Regions from separate parts of the Homo sapiens genome. Here region 2 is linked to region 1. Evidence: promoter capture Hi-C in human tissues and cell types (Jung and others, 2019). All regions are on one chromosome and are shown on one strand. Each heading gives the region's core, a stretch centred on a gene start or on the middle of the fragment in contact. The rest is flanking DNA. Distances are from core to core; before and after follow the strand shown.

Evidence for each region. The method cuts DNA at HindIII sites, captures the fragments that hold promoters and counts their contacts. A contact is called where the count stands out against the background at its distance.
Region 2: a contact is called between a fragment that was not itself captured here and the fragment with the promoter of BARX1 in region 1, in 2 of the 25 tissues and cell types used here (dorsolateral prefrontal cortex and lymphoblastoid cells).

What each region holds. Positions count from the first base shown.
Region 1 is chr9:93,951,538-93,958,984 of GRCh38, forward strand. It overlaps BARX1 (BARX homeobox 1), which reads right to left and starts at 3,818. Exons shown (of 4, transcript NM_021570.4): 1 at 3,387-3,818; 2 at 1,359-1,650; 3 at 1,192-1,276; 4 at 90-791. The coding sequence starts at 3,609. The coding sequence ends at 627. It overlaps BARX1-DT (BARX1 divergent transcript), which reads left to right and starts at 4,297. Exons shown (of 2, transcript NR_144455.1): 1 at 4,297-5,331; 2 at 5,976-6,385. It overlaps LOC124902216 (a long non-coding RNA gene), which reads left to right and starts at 3,989. Exons shown (of 3, transcript XR_007061672.1): 1 at 3,989-4,103. RefSeq lists enhancers at 1,272-1,836, 1,837-2,400, 3,812-4,343, 4,344-4,874. The HindIII fragment of the contact is 32,678 bases long and covers 1-7,447 here.
Region 2 is chr9:93,842,405-93,849,851 of GRCh38, forward strand. It overlaps LOC101928014 (a long non-coding RNA gene), which reads left to right. Exons shown (of 4, transcript NR_188449.1): 2 at 2,763-2,878. Among named protein-coding and RNA genes, the nearest start is that of MIR4291, 27 kb to the left of the region's middle. The HindIII fragment of the contact is 6,628 bases long and covers 111-6,738 here.

The sequences.
Region 1 (7,447 bases), core at 2,568-5,067:
AACTGCCCGCGTTCCGCTTATCTTGCCGAGCCCACCCCCACCCCCACCCTCACCCCCTGCGGATTCAGAAGCTGCTCCACCGAGCCCGATTGTGTCATAAAATATTTTATTGGAAAAAAAGTCACCGTCTTCGCAAGAGGGGGTAGGGGCCCCAGCGACATCGGGGACCCGGCCTCCAGGCCGAGCCGACGGGTTGCCCCGGGGCAATCTCAGGCCGTTGTGGCCTGAGCCCAACCGCTGGGTCCCCGACGTCCAGAAGCGGGTGTGTGCCTGGAGGCTCCCCGGCCGGGAGGGCAGGCCCCAGACGGGGTGGGGGTGCAGGCGAGGAGCGGGGCGTGAATACGCGTGGAGCGCTCTGCGCCACGGAGCTCAGGGTAGAGACTGTAGCTTCCGCCGGGCTGGATGCGAGTCTCCCAGGTTAGAGCCCAGAAGCGCGCTGGGACCTGGGTCTGGCTTTTGGGTCTGTGTCCTTCCTCGTTTGGCCCCAATTGTCCGCATTCAAGATCATAATAAAAAGGCTTAGGAAGTAAACTTCTTGGACGCGGAAGGGCCGGCTCGCGGGTTTCCGCCGAGTGAGGGGGCTGCGGGTGGCGCGGGCATCCCAGGCCCCGCACCGTATACCGCCCTCAGTCCTCGCGGCTCCTGTCGCTGGGCTCGCCCGGCACCTCCGCCGGTTTCTCTGCATCCTTGGCGCGCTCCTGCTCAGTAAGCTGCTCGCTCGTTGGAATTGAGTTCTTCTTGGGCCGCCCCTTGGGCTTGGTGGGAGACTCCAGGCCGCCGCCCTGCAGCACCTGCACGGGGGACCGCCAGCACCTGGGTGAGCCAGCACGTGGACTGGGGACCCCCGAGGAGACTTGAACCCAGGTAGGACTAAGGAGTGCAGGGTCCATATGAGGAAATGGTGGGGAAATGTCCCGGGAAATGGCGGCCATTTGTCCAAATGCCGCCTGGGGAGCGGCCCGGCCTGGGGAGCATAAGACTGCCAGGAGGCCTGAAGGTGCCGCGGGAAAGGACGAAATGTTGGCTTACCCAAGGGGCAGAAAAAACTGAGAGGATTCCGGTGCGTACCAGGCACCGAGGGAATCGGGGGGTTGGGCAGAGTCTCAGTGGGGAGAAAGAGGAGAGCAGCTCTGCATGCACCGGGGCATGGCCCAGGAAGCTGAGGGGTGGGAAGCCACCAGGCACACTCACTATTTTCTTCCACTTCATCCTCCGATTCTGGTACCACGTCTTCACCTGCAACTGGCTCAGGCCCAGGGACTCAGCAAGATCTATTCTGGAAAGAGCAGGGCGCACCCTCAGCAAGGCAAGTGACCACACTCCCACAGCCCGCTGGCCCCAGCCTTGTACCGCCCTACCTGTCCGGCGTGGAAAGGTACTTCTGCTTCTCGAAGCGTTTCTCCAGGCCCATCAGCTGCAGCTCGGTGAACACAGTGCGGCTCCGACGCCCCTTCTTGGCTTTGGTGCCTGGCTCCCCAGGGCCTGCCGCCTCCAGCTTCCCGCGGAGCTGCAACTCGAGCGGCAGGTGTGGCGCACCCGCGGCGCCGGGCAGCCCGGGCCCTGCCGCCAGCAACGCAGAGCTCAGCCCTGAACAGCCCAGCGGCGCCAGTGGGAACTTGAACACCGCCGCCTGCTCGGCCTTCAGCACGGCTGCGAAGAAAGAGAATGAGGACCCGGGTGAGCTACGGCCGCGCTCCTCTGCCCCAGGGACTGCCGCACCACGTGCCGCGGGGGTGCTCGCGCTTGGCCAGTGCCTCCCAGCGCAAAACCTCCACGCCCTGCCGGTCGGCGCCGGTGGCGCAGATGGAGACCCTCCTCAACGTTGCCGTTCCCCAGATTTGGGAGGGAGTATCTCCTCGACCCTGTCCGTGTTCTGTCCTGGAGTTCCCCAGGCCTCAGCTGCCTCTGAGATCTCGGGGTTCCTGATGAACATGTTTGCAGCTGCGAGAAACTCGGAGTGTGTCTTGTCTTTCGGGGAAAGTAGAAACCAAAAAGAAAACGGCAGCTGGTCCTAAGAAGATGGCGTTTGCTCCAACCAAATCAGCCTTGCTGCGTTAGAAAAAGAACATGCACGGAGCGTGCACATTTGCTCTTCCGTGCGTGGCACAACAGCCATGCGGTGGCCAGGAGTCATCTGGGCCGGAGTTGGGTGCTTCCCGGAAATTCCAAAGTACCCTGAGAACCTGGAAATTATTGTTCACGTTTTCTATTTTCAGACGCTTCCCCATGCAGATGTTTCCATTTTCTTCAGTCCTAAAATGATTGTGTGCCCGCTTCAAACGAATTAGTAGCAACAGAGCAGATGGAGACGAAAGGTAGCCGAATGGCCGAGTCCCAGCTGGACTTAGAAGGAGCGCGCTGGCCCTGCCGTCTCCAGGCTAGGGAGCACCGACTAGGAGGTGGGGGGGTGCAGGGAAGGCGACTTGAAGGGCTGGGGTCCCGGCTACAGCGTAGGAGCCTCCCTTCCCCGACAGGCCTGTCACTGAGGTGCGAGTCCTAGCCTGGCTGGAGTCGGAAAGGGCAGGGCAAGGCGCAGGTAAATGTGGGGCAGAGGACCCGTAGGGAAAAGGTGGGAGATGGGAGGCAGGCCGACCCCAATGAGAGAAGCGAGGGAGGCCGACCGGCAGACGGTTGGAAAGCGAGATAGGGAAAGACAAGACGAGGGTGGAGTGCGATGGAGACAGCACCATCAGGGCAGAGCAGGCCCCGCCAAATTAGAAGAAAGGGCAGAAGCTGAAAAGGTCTGCGCAGGCCGTTCAAGCCCTGCAGAGGCCCAGCCGACCTGAAACCAGAAGGGACAGCCAGGCAGCTGCTCACAGTCAGGCCTCTGGCCCCAAGGCAAGGCCGAAGCAGGTCCGCACTGCGGCCAAGGCCGCGTTCCTCGCCCGCTGGAGCTCCCGGGGACTCCGGGCCGGCTTGGGCCCGCGTCAGCACCCAGCCCTCGGGAGCGCAGGCCTCCTCCCCAGAGGTCCGACTTCCCTGGGTTGGGCAGCCGCGGCCACTCCCGGCCATCCCTCTGCGGCGAAGCCCAGGCGCCCGTGGCCTGAGGTCGCTTCCACCCACGAGAGTCCGTAGCCTGGCAGTGCGCCTGCACTGGGGATGCTCACTCGGGGTCCCCGGGCTGGAGGCCGAAGGGAAGCAGTGAAGGAAAGAGCGAACACCCTCCCCGGGCGGCCCGCGGGCACGAGGCCTGGTTTCTGTGAGGCCTGGAGCTTGCACCCTCCGCCTCCCGCCTGGAGGGCTCCGAGAGACGGTCCCAGAACCTGCGCTCCCAGAGCAGCTTCCCGGGGCTGCTTCGATGCCGGAGGAGGCTCGGGGCGCCCCCGCGGTTCAGCTCGCTGTCTCCCGCCAAGCCCGGCCCGCGACCCCGCGGCCGCCACACGTACCCAGGTGGCTGTGGAAGGGCCGCGCCGCCAGCAGCGCCTGCACGCCGAACTTCAGCAGCTCGCCCGCCGCGGCAGCGGCGGCTGCGGGCGCGGCGCCCTTGGGCCCGGGTGGCTCCGTGAGGATCTCCTCAATCATGAAGCTGCGATAGCGGTGCGGCCGGTGGTCCGCGCAGCCCTCGGGCGGGCCGAAGCGCGCGGCGCCCGGCTCCCCCGGCCGCTGCATCGCGGCGCCCACTGCTGCGCCCGCGGTTTGGCGGCGGCGGCGGCGACGGCTTGGCTCCGGCGCGGGGCCCGCGCGGGGCTCTAGGCCGGCCCGCAGCTCGGGGCGGCGCGCGGGCGCCGGCTCATGCCCCCTCCCCCGCCGGCCGGCCGGGCGGAGGCGCAGGGCGCGGGCGGGGCGCGCGGGGCTCGGCCGGTCGAACCCGGGACTGCGCCCCCTCCCCACGCCGCCGCGCCTCTTGCCCGGCCAGCCCCGCGTCACCGCCCCGCCCCGCCCCGCCCCGCGCCGCCGCCCCCAACCCCTAGGCTGAGCCGGAGGGAGGGACCCAGAAGGGAGGGAGGCGGAAGGGAGGCCAAAAAGGAGGGGGCCACGTGAAAGAGGCCGGCCGACCGAGACCGAGGGAGACTGAGCGGAGCGCACGCCCTGGAAGGAGAGAGCCGGAGAGTTCGGGAGGCAAGACCCCCAGAGACGAGAGTCGGAGGGATCAAACGACACAGGTGAGAGAAGGGGCAGAGGCAGACGGCGTGGGCCAAACAAGATTCCAGACAGTGATGTGAGGGCACCAGAGACGCCACCGAGATGTGCGCAGAGAGACCAAAAGAGGCGTGAGAGCCAGCGGGCTGTGACGTGACGGAGGGCACAGAGGCAGGCGGGGCAGAGGAAGGGGGCGGTAAAGAAATGGGAACAGCTAGAAAACCGGCGGCTTGATCGGCTTTTAGGTAGCCCCGGAAAGGTCGGGAGGAGGAGGGGCAAAGGCCGCGCTCCTCAGCTGGGAAGGAGGTGGTCTCAAGCAGCCTCCAGTCCCGGGCTCAACACCGCCAACCCGGCAAGGGTGAGGCAGCGTTCAGGGATGCAAGGGGCAGAGCGGTAGCGGCACCTGTGCACCCCTCCCACCTCTGCCTCAGTTTACCATGTACGGCCTCATTTCTCTCCGGGCTGCCCTGAGAGAAAAATGTTCTCCAGCCGAGATTTGCTTGAATTGGAAATTCAAGTGATCCATGGACACATCCTCCTTGACAGCCCCCAGAAGACTGTAGGCTGGTTACATCCCCCTAGTTAGAAAAGGAAAAGGATTCGAGGAGAAGGGAAGGATGCAGCTTTGCCTTTTCCCAGCTTTGGGGCATCAAGAAACTGTTACTGGGCGGAGTTGGGGCCAGGGGGCCAGTGGGTGCTCTGAGAGTGTAAAGACCAAACTCTGGTGGGACCTGGCTCCATTGCGGAGCCTCAAAAGCTCCAACATGGTGGAGGAAGTTGGCAGTACCTTCTCTAGATCTTTCTTTCCATCCTTAGAAGAGTATAAGCCCAAGCCGTGGAGTGAACAACCCCAAAGCTACCCTACGCTGAACTCCTCTCTTTGGTCCTGCCACTACTGGTGAAACCACTGACCCTTTCTGGGCCTGTTTCCTTACCTGTCCTGAGGAGATGCTGACCTTTGGCTCCAGAGAGACTGTGAGAACTCAGTGAGGGGGTCCTGCACTCCGAGGGTCCTGCACCCTGGGAGCCCTTAGGTCTGTTTGGAGAGAAAACAGTTCCTCCAGGCAAGAGGGGAGAAGTGTCCCCAGGAGGTTGGGGGAGGAGCATCTGCCCTCCTCCTTCTCAGGAATCACAGGGCCTACCTCCTAGCCCCATCCACCATTGCCAGTCAGCGCCTGATGCACTGGGGGTGTCCTGGGCCACCCGGACTTCCTCTGTGAGCTCCATGTGGGGCCTCAGTCTTTACCTCAGGTAACTAGGGCTTACCACACCTACAGCCATGCCCCCCACCCAAGTTGAAGTCCTTTCTCCAGCTCCAGCTGCTGGTGGGGAGGCCTTCAGGCTGGCCCTCAGTCCCTGGCACCTGCCCCAGACTCGGGAGTGGGGGTGGGGGGCAGGTGGGGACTAGGAAGTGGCCCAGATCCTTTGTCTGTAGGGCCTGGAGTGAGGACAAAGACTACCTTACTCTGGTAAGATCCCAGTCCCAAGAGCCCACTGTCTCTCCTTCCCAGTTGTTGCATGACTTTCTGAACTCAGAGTTACCATTGGGACTGAAAGAAGGTGGCCTCAATGGCCGCCAGTTGCTTCGGACTCCCTCGGAGAGTGGTGCTGTGAGCCTACATGGTTCTTTGGAAAGGGTGGAGAGGGGCGCACTAAGAGCAACAGTATCCCACACTGAGCAGGCCTCCTCCTGAGAGACCAAGAGACCAGGAAGCTGGCCCTGTCGCTGTTGGCCAAGCAGCCACTGACATCCTACCTGGCAAATAGAAACAAGCCAGTGTCTCCTGGGAGGCTGGGGCAGCCCAGTCAGGCTCCCCCTATCAACGGGTAGACTCAGAGAACCCTCCCTAGATGAGTGCAATAGTATCACTCAATCCAACCATCTCCTTTTTCAGATGGGAAACTGAGGCCCAGCAAGAGGCAGCCCTGGTGCAGGGACTCCAGTGAGTAGGGCTGGTTTACTATTGCTTCTTGTACAGAGCCATATCAAGCTCCTTTTTCCGGCTTCCTCCCTCACCTCCCCCATCTTAGCAGGGCCCCTGCCCCTTCCTCACCCCCTGGCTTCTGCATCTCCCTAAGGGCATAGCCTAGTGGTGGTTTCTCCCCTGAGTAGGCCCAGCTAGCCTCTGTCCCATCCCCTGTTATTTGGGCCCTAACAGAAGCTACCCAAATTTGAACCATCTCTGCCCCATGCTCAAGACCTGAGGGTCTCACATCCTCAAAATGGGTCCCCAGATTCCAGATCCAAGGATTTGGGGATCACACTGTTCATCAGCTGTCACTAAACTTATTTTACTATGAGCCATCCCCCTGGGGTAGCTTCTTGGTCAGCTTGTGGGGAAGGGGGTCATTTTCAGGATGGAGGCCTCATCTCTAGATTTTGGGGAGTCAAAAGAGTAGTGCAGCCCAGCCCTCACCCCATTCCACAGGTGTGCACCCCCAGCTCCTTGGACTCTGGCCAGGACCATTTCCTGCAGCCCCAGGCCAGCCCTGCAGCATGAGCAGAGGGTGGCTTTGGGAATGAGGCCCTGAGGGCTGGAAGGAGAATGCCCAGCGCCTAGGGAACTTTGGGAGACCGCAGCTGGCTCCAGGGGCTGAGAGAGCCAGGGTCCTGCCCCCGGTCGCCCAAAACACCTCCCTTGTAGGTCTGTCCCTGATCCCCCGGCTCTTGATAGACACAGCCTCCCCGTCGCCCGACCCCAGGGCAAACCAGCAGATAAACCCCTTTTAGGCGAAAATTACACAAAAACGGCGGCGGCGGCGGGGCCTCCTCTGCTCAGGCACTGCCGCGTTGGCGGCCGAAAAAAGAGGGTCCCAGAGAAGGGGAACCCCCTCCCTGTCGAGGACACCGAGGCCCAGAGAGGGGAAGCCTCCTCCCCAGTGGGGTGCAGTCTGGGATTGCAGTCCCCACCCCAGGGGCGCAGCTGCCAGCCCAACGCCTGGGACACACCCCCTCCCGAGGCCTCTAGCCGCCGCCGCGAAAATCCCGGAAACCGTCCTGCTCGCGGCGGGCGCAGTGGAAAAGGTGACCTCAGCGCCCCGGGCCAGCCGCCCTCCCTAGCAGCCGGGCGGCGAGGGGCTCCGGGCGGCAGGGGTTCCTCGGCGCCGCCCGGTCGCTGGATGAGGGGCCCTCGGAGCGCAGAACCGGCCCCCTCCCCACCCATGTTCTGCCCCTCAGACCCTACAGCCCCTTTGGAGGCTGCGGGACAGGGAGGGGACCACCTCATTCCCACAACCGAATCCCCTAAGCATTCAGGTGTAGGTTCCAGAACCACCTCCCCTCCACCCACACCCTTCTCCTACTCCAGCGCCTCCCAGACGGGATTGTGAAATGGCTCCGCGTGCGAACGGGTCCAGGAGCCGTTCG
Region 2 (7,447 bases), core at 2,175-4,674, 110 kb before region 1:
TTTCTTCTAGGTTTTCCAATTTGTTGGCATATAGTTGTTTATAGTAGCCTCTAATGATTCTTTGTAATTCTGTGGTCTCAGTTGTTATGAGTTCTTTTTTGTTTCTGATTTTATTTATTTAGACTTCTTTCTCTCTTTTTTAGTCTAGCTAAAATTTTGTTGATTTTGTTTATCTTTTCAAAAAATCAACTTTTCATTTCATTGATATCCTGTATTTTTTTAACTTAGATGTTTCTTTGCGAATTATCTGTCTGGATAATTGGCCCATTACTAAGAGTAGGGTGTTAAAATCCTCTACCATTATTGTATTGCAATCCTTCTCTTCCTTTAGATCTACTAATGTTTGCTTTATATACTTGGAAGCTACAGTTAATGGGGTGCATATATAATTATAATTGTTATATTATCTTACTTAATTGACCCCTTTATCATCATATGGTGACCTTCTTAGTCCCTTTTTACAGTCTCTGATTTGTACTCTATTCAACCTAATATAACTGTAGATACTCCTCCTCTTTTTTGGTTAGCATGTGTAGCATTTTTGGTTAGTATAAAATATCTTTTCCCACTCCTTCACTTTCAGTCTATGTGTGTTTTCATATATGAGGTGAGTTTCTTGTAGGTAGCATATAGTTAGGTATTATTTCTTTATCCATTCAGCCACACTATGCCTTTTAATTGGAGAATTGAGTCTGTTGACATTCAATGTTATTATTGATTAAATGTGGACTTATTGTTGCCATTTTGTTGCTTGTTTTCTGGTTGTTTTGTAACTCCGCATCCTTTCTTCCTTTCCTACAGTCTTCCTTCGTGGTTAAGTGATATTCTTTGGCATTATGTTTTAATTCTTTTTTTATTTTTAGTGAATCTATTATAGGTTTTTGCGTTATGGTTACCATGAAGCTTACAAAAAATCATAGATATATAACAAATTATTTTGAAGAGATGACAACTGCTGTGCACAGTGGTTCATGCCTGTAATCTCAATACTTTGGAAGTCTGAGGTGGGAGGATTGTTTAAGTCCAGAAGTTTGAGACCAGTCTGGGCAACACAGTGAGACCCTGTCTCTACAAAAAATGTTTTTTAAAAAATTAGCCAGGCATGGTGATGTGTGCCTGTAATCCAGCTACTTGGGAGGTTGAAGTAGGAGGATCACTTGAGCCCTGGAATTTAAAGCTGCAGTGAGTCATGATCATACCACTGCACTGCAGCCTGGGGGCCAGAATAAGACCCTGTCGAGAGAGAGAGAGAGAGAGAGAGAGAGAGAGAACACAGAGAAGAATAGAAACAAATAAAACATTTTTTAAAACTCTACAAATTAACTCCATTCTCTCAACGTTTTGACTTTATGTTGTCTCAATTTACATATGACGCCTATCTCTTAACAGGTTTCTATAGCTATTGTTGTTTTTGATAGATTTGTCTTTTGGGCTTTATACTAGAGTTAAGAGTGGATTGCACACCACAATTAGAGTATTAGAGTATTCTGGGTTTGTCTGTATACTTAGTTTTACAAGTGAGTTTTATACATCGAAATGTTTTCATTCTGTTCGTTAGTGTTTTTCTTCTTTCAAATTGAAGAACTCTCATTAGCATTTCTTGGAAGATGGATCTGATGGTGGTGAATTCTGTTTTTGTTTGTCTGAGGACGACTTTATCTTTCCTTCATACTTGAAGGACAGCTTTGCTAGATATAGTATTATTAGCTGACAGTTATTTTTTTTCTTTCAGCACTTTGAAAATGTTATACCACTCCCTCCTGGCCTATATGGTTCCTATTGAGAAATCTGTTGCCAGACAAATTGGGTTTTCTTTGTATGTTATTTGCTTATTTTCTCTTGTTACTTTTTGGATCCTCTCTTTGTCCTTGACCTTTGAGGGTTTGATTATGCATTGGAGTAGTTTTATTTGGGTCTTGCTCTGTCACCCAGGTTGCAGTGCAGTGGCATGATCATGGCTCACTCTATCCTTGACTTTGCAGGCTTAAGCAATCCTTCTACCTTAGACTTCTGAGCAGCTGGAATCACAGGTATGTGTCACCACATTCAGCTAATTTTTAAAAATTTTTTGTAGAGACAAGTCTCACCATGTTGCCCAGGCTGGTCTCAAATTCCTGGGTTCAAGTGATCTTCCCACTTTGGTCTCCCAAAGTGCTGAGATTATAGGGGTGAGCCACTGTACCTGGCCTATTTTGAATTTTTGATCAGAGAGTTCACATATTGCCATCTCATTAGGGTCAGTTTCTGATTTCTTGCTTTGTAAATCTAGAGAAATCATGGGTCCCTGTTTGCTGTTGTTTCTTGTTGATGTATGCCTATATCTTTGCATTGAAGGCTTAGTTATTTGTCCCAGTCTAATCAGCCTCGTTTTGTTGTTTATTGGATATGTTTCCTCAGAGATTCTTTGTAGTTTACCCATTGATTTTCTTTCTTTTTTTTTCTGCTAGGTTTCTGCCTCCTTCTTTGTACTAGATGGTGCCTTAAGCCCAGGTTTGCCTCAGTTCTAATAGACAATTAGTGTCACTGGTCTTAAATAGGGGAGGTCTCAAAGGGGATGACTCAGTAGTGTGGCACTGCTGGCTATAGGCTCATGCCCAGGGGACCTGTGGGATGAACCTCCTACAGCATGGTGCTGGTGAACAGCCACTGTGATTTGGTGTCTCCTTTGATCAAGTTACAGGGTTAAGTTTCCAAGGCTGGGGCTAGTAGTCTAGCCTCCCTCTTTTGTCTCTGGCTATCCTCAGTGATCTTTCTTCTTTCAGGCACTCCTGATACTTCCCATGGTTGAAACAGAAATGGGTCTCCTGCCAGTGAACCCAAGAGGATGAGGAAGTTGGTTTACCACCTTGATCTTATTTTTTCCAGTATTTTTCCAACTGTGAGTTGGGGAAAATTTTCTATGGCTAGGTGCTGGATGGATTGTGGGGAGGGACATTGTGGATATGAAAATCCAATTTTCTTACTATCTGCTCAGAGTTTGTTCACTTCTCTGTGGCCCAGGGAACCACATATATTCTCCTGATATTTGAGTTCTGGGATATTGCTGGTGATAATGTCCATGCTGTCTATTTGTTTTTAGTTTTCTGTGGGAGGAGGTGAAGCCAGCTTACTTCTACACCATGATTTTGGAACCAGAAGTACTCCAAATCTCTATATTTTCTGAGTCATTTCTTTGGTTGTTGGTCTAGGGCTTCCATAGAGTCTCAATTTATCAGAATCTACTTAGAGTTCTTCTAATTTAATTTCAGTGAACTATAGAAATGTTACTTCTAGAAAACTCTATGTCCTCTTTTCCTTTTTGTGCTACTATTGTTATACATATTACATCAGAATATGTCAAAAACCTACCAATACACTGTTATAATTGCTACTTTATATATGGACACTTCTGTATAGAGAGCAAGTAAATATTTTTTAGCTTATTATATTTGCCTTCTTATTTATCATTTCTTGTTCTCTTTATTGGTTCCTGTGGTTTTGAGTTACCATCTGGGATCATTTCCTTACTCCAGTACCTACCCACTCCTTTGTGCTGTTATTGTCAAACATGTCACATGTATAGGCCTAACAATACCTATATGTTAGTGTCATACATATGTATACATGTATATACATATGTATACATATATACATTCTGTTTCATACAATTGCTTTTAAAATCAGGTAAGAGAAGAAAGAAGAAAATATGCATTTGTTTATTTATTAATAATTGCATAACTACCTTTAACAGGGCTCTTTTTTTAATGTGGGTTCAAATTTTCATCTGGGTTTACTTGCTTTGAGCCTGACTGATTTCCTTTAATATTTCTTATAAGGTGAACCTGACAGCAGTAAATTATCTCAAGTTTTGTTTATCTGGGAATGGTTGTATTTTACCTTCATTTTTGAAAGATACATTTACTGAATATAAGACTCATGGTTAATATTTTTCTTTGAGCACTTTAAGTGTGTCATACTACTAAGCAGTCAGCTGTTCATCTTATTGGGGTTCCCTTGCATGTAATTTTTTCTTGTTGCTGTCAAGATTTTATCTTTGGTTTTGGCTTTCAGCATTTTTATTATGTGTTTGGGTGTGGCTGTCTTTGTATTCATCCTAATCAGACTTTGCTGAGCTTCATGGATATGCAGATTAATGTTTTTCAGCAATTGGAAGTTTTCAGCTACAATTTTTTTTTTTTTTTGAGACAGTCTCGCTCTGTCATCCAGGCTGGCGTGCAGTGGTGTGATCTCATCTCACTGCAACCTCTGCCTCCTGGGGTCAAGCGAGTCTCCTGCCTCAGCCTCCTGAGTAGCTGGGATTACAGGTGCCCACCATCATGCCTGGCTAATTTTTGTTTTTGTTTTTGTTTTTTTAGTAGAGATGAGGTTTCACCATGTTGGCCAGGCTGGTCTCGAACTCCTGACCTCAGGTGATCTGTCTGCCTTGGCCTCCCAACGTGCTGGGATTACAGACATGAGCCACCATGCCTGGCCTCAGCCATTATTTCATCTAATATTATTTCTGTTCATTTCTTCTCTCCTCCCAGTATTTCTGTTACATGTGTGTTTGTGTGTCTAAAGGTGTCCCACATTACTCTGAGGCTCTGCTCATTTTTTTCAGTCTATTTTTACTCTGTTCTTCAGATTGCATGGTCTCTATTGATCTATTTTTAAGTTCACTGTGTATTTCTTTTGCTGGTTAAAATCTACTGTTGAGCCCCTCTAATGAATTTTTCATTTTATTTATTACACTTTTAAACCACAGAACTTTTGTTTTTTTATAGTTCCTATCTCTATTAATATTCTCCATTTGATGAAACATGATCTTCCTATCTTTTATAATTTCTTTAAGCATGGCTTCCTTTAGTTTTCCAAACATATTCATAACGCATACTTTGAAGACTTTGTCTATTAAGTATAACATCTGGAGTTTCTCACAGGCAGTTTCTGTTGCCTACATTTTTCCTGTGTATGGGTCCATGTTCCTGTTTTTTTGCATGTCTTATAATATTTTGTTGGAAATGAGGACATTTCTGGTAATATAGCAACTTTGGAGACTGATTGCCCTTCTCCCTCTCTGAAGCTTAATTTTGTTTGCTTATGTGTTTTATGACTTGGCTAGACTATCTTAGTGAAGTCCATTTCACACAGAATGAAGTCTTTGGTGTTGCTCGTCAAAAGGCACAGCCTGGGGCATGCACACAGTTACCTTGGGATGAGGGTGGTTTTAGCACACTCTCTTTGTCTCTTTTCTGATCTCTCTGTTAAGCTGTCTGTTTCATTTGGTATTACTCTCCATCCTTTAGACTCCACAAATTACCAACTGATTGCTTTATGTCTTTTTTGACAATGCCCTGAAACATTAATTTCTGAGCAGCCCAATCCAATCAAATTTGGAGAGGGCTAGATTGTGAGCTCAGTCTTTAAGGTTTATTCTGTACCCAGTGGAAGTCTTCTTAGCTATCTCTTTCCCAGATTCTCCCTGGTGACCTAGATGGCCTATGGTTTAGCTTGTTCCTCCTAATTAAGAGCAACTATTGATTTTGAGAGCATCCTTAGGCTTAAACTTCTCCAGTCTCTTTCAAATAATGTCAGGTCCTTTGTGGAGAGCTTTTTCTATGTGCCGCCTCTCCCCTGGCACAGTCTCTGAGCCCTGAATGGGCCATGGCCTCTGTCTTCATTGCTTGCCTGTTTTGGTGTAAACACTCTGCCTTCAGCTGAGGCAACGGTGGTTAGGGTGCCAGTATCCTTGGCCTGATGTGCTAGGGTAGAGCTTCTGTCCTATCGGTAGAGGAAGGAAGCTCCGTATCTCTCAGTCACATTCACCAGGAACTCTTAAACTTGGAATTGAAAGGAATTAGAAATGCTAGTGGTCTGCCCTTCTCAGTAAGGCATGGAATGACTTGGTTGGGAGGAAGAGGGAGAGGGAGCACCATATTTTGATCACACTCACTCAGAGTGGAGCTTCTGTGAAGCTGAATAGAGAGGAAGCTGGGGTGGGGGGACACGGGGAGGGAATGGGCCATGGCTCAATGCCACAGATTCTTGCTATTCTTACTGAGTTTTAATATGTTTTCTTGAATAAATATTTCTTTATTTGCTGTATGCTGCAGGACAATTTCCAGAGACTTTTAATGACTTATTAAAGAAATGTTTTTTTAAAAAATAGCTGTTGACAGTCTTCCTTTTTTTTTGTGATGGGGTTTTGCAATGTTGCCAGGCTGGAGTAAAGTGGCTATTCACAGGTGCAATCATAGTGCACTACAGGCCTGAATTCCTGGGCTCAAATGATCCTCCTGCCTCAGCCTCCCAAGTAGCTGGGAATTCAGGCATGTGCCACAATACCTGGTCTAGTTTTGCTTTTTTCACTGGAAGTGAGTCTGCAAAGATTCATATTCTAACATCCCTCTATAGCTTCTCAGTAAACTGACAAATTGTTTTTGTAAGTGTTTGTACCCTGTTACATTCCCACCGGTTCTAGTTTCTCCTCATTCTTACCAACAATTCATATCGTCAGCCTCTTTCATTTTAGCCATTCTAATAGATATGTAATCTGACAAGGAATTAATAACCAGAATTAAACAACTCAAACAACTCAAGAGGAAAACATAGAATAATCTGATTTAAAATGGGCAAAAGATCTGAAGAGACATTTCTCAAAAGAAGACACAAATGGAAAACAGGTATATGAAAAGGTGCTCAACATTGTTGATCATCAGAGAAATGCAAATCAAATGCAATGAGGTATCATCTCACCCCAGTTAAAATGGCTTTTATCCAAAAAAATGTACAATAGCAAATGCTGGTAAGAATGTGGAGAAAAGGGAACCCCCATATGCTGTTGGTGGGAATGTAAATTAATACAACCACTATGGAGAACAGTTTGAAGATTCCTCAAAAAACTAAAAAAAGAGCTACCATATGATCCAGCAATCCCACTGCTAAGTATAGACCCAAAAGAAAGGAAATCAGTATATCAAAGAGATATCTGTACTCCCATGTTTATTGTAGCAATGTTCGCAATAGCCAAGATTTGAAAGCAAGCTATGTGTCCATCAACAGATGAATGGATAAAGAAAATGTGGTACATATACCCAATGGAGTCTATTCAGCTGATAGATGTATAGTAGTATCTCATTGTGTGTGTGTTTCTTTGTTTTTTTGTTTTGTTTTGTTTGTTTGTTTGTTTTTTGAGATGGAATCTCACTCTGTCGCCGGGCTGGAGGGCAGTGGCGCAATCTCAGCTCACTGCAACCTCTGCCTCCTGGGTTCAAGTGATTCTCCTGCCTCAGCCTCCTGAGTAGCTGGGAATACAGGCACATACCACCACACCCAGCTAATTTTTGTATTTTTAGTAGAGAGGGGGTTTCACCATGTTGGCCAGGATGGTCTCGATCTCTTGACCTCATGATCTGCCCGCCTTGGGCTCCCAAAGTGCTGGGATTACACGCATGAGCCGCCTTGCCTG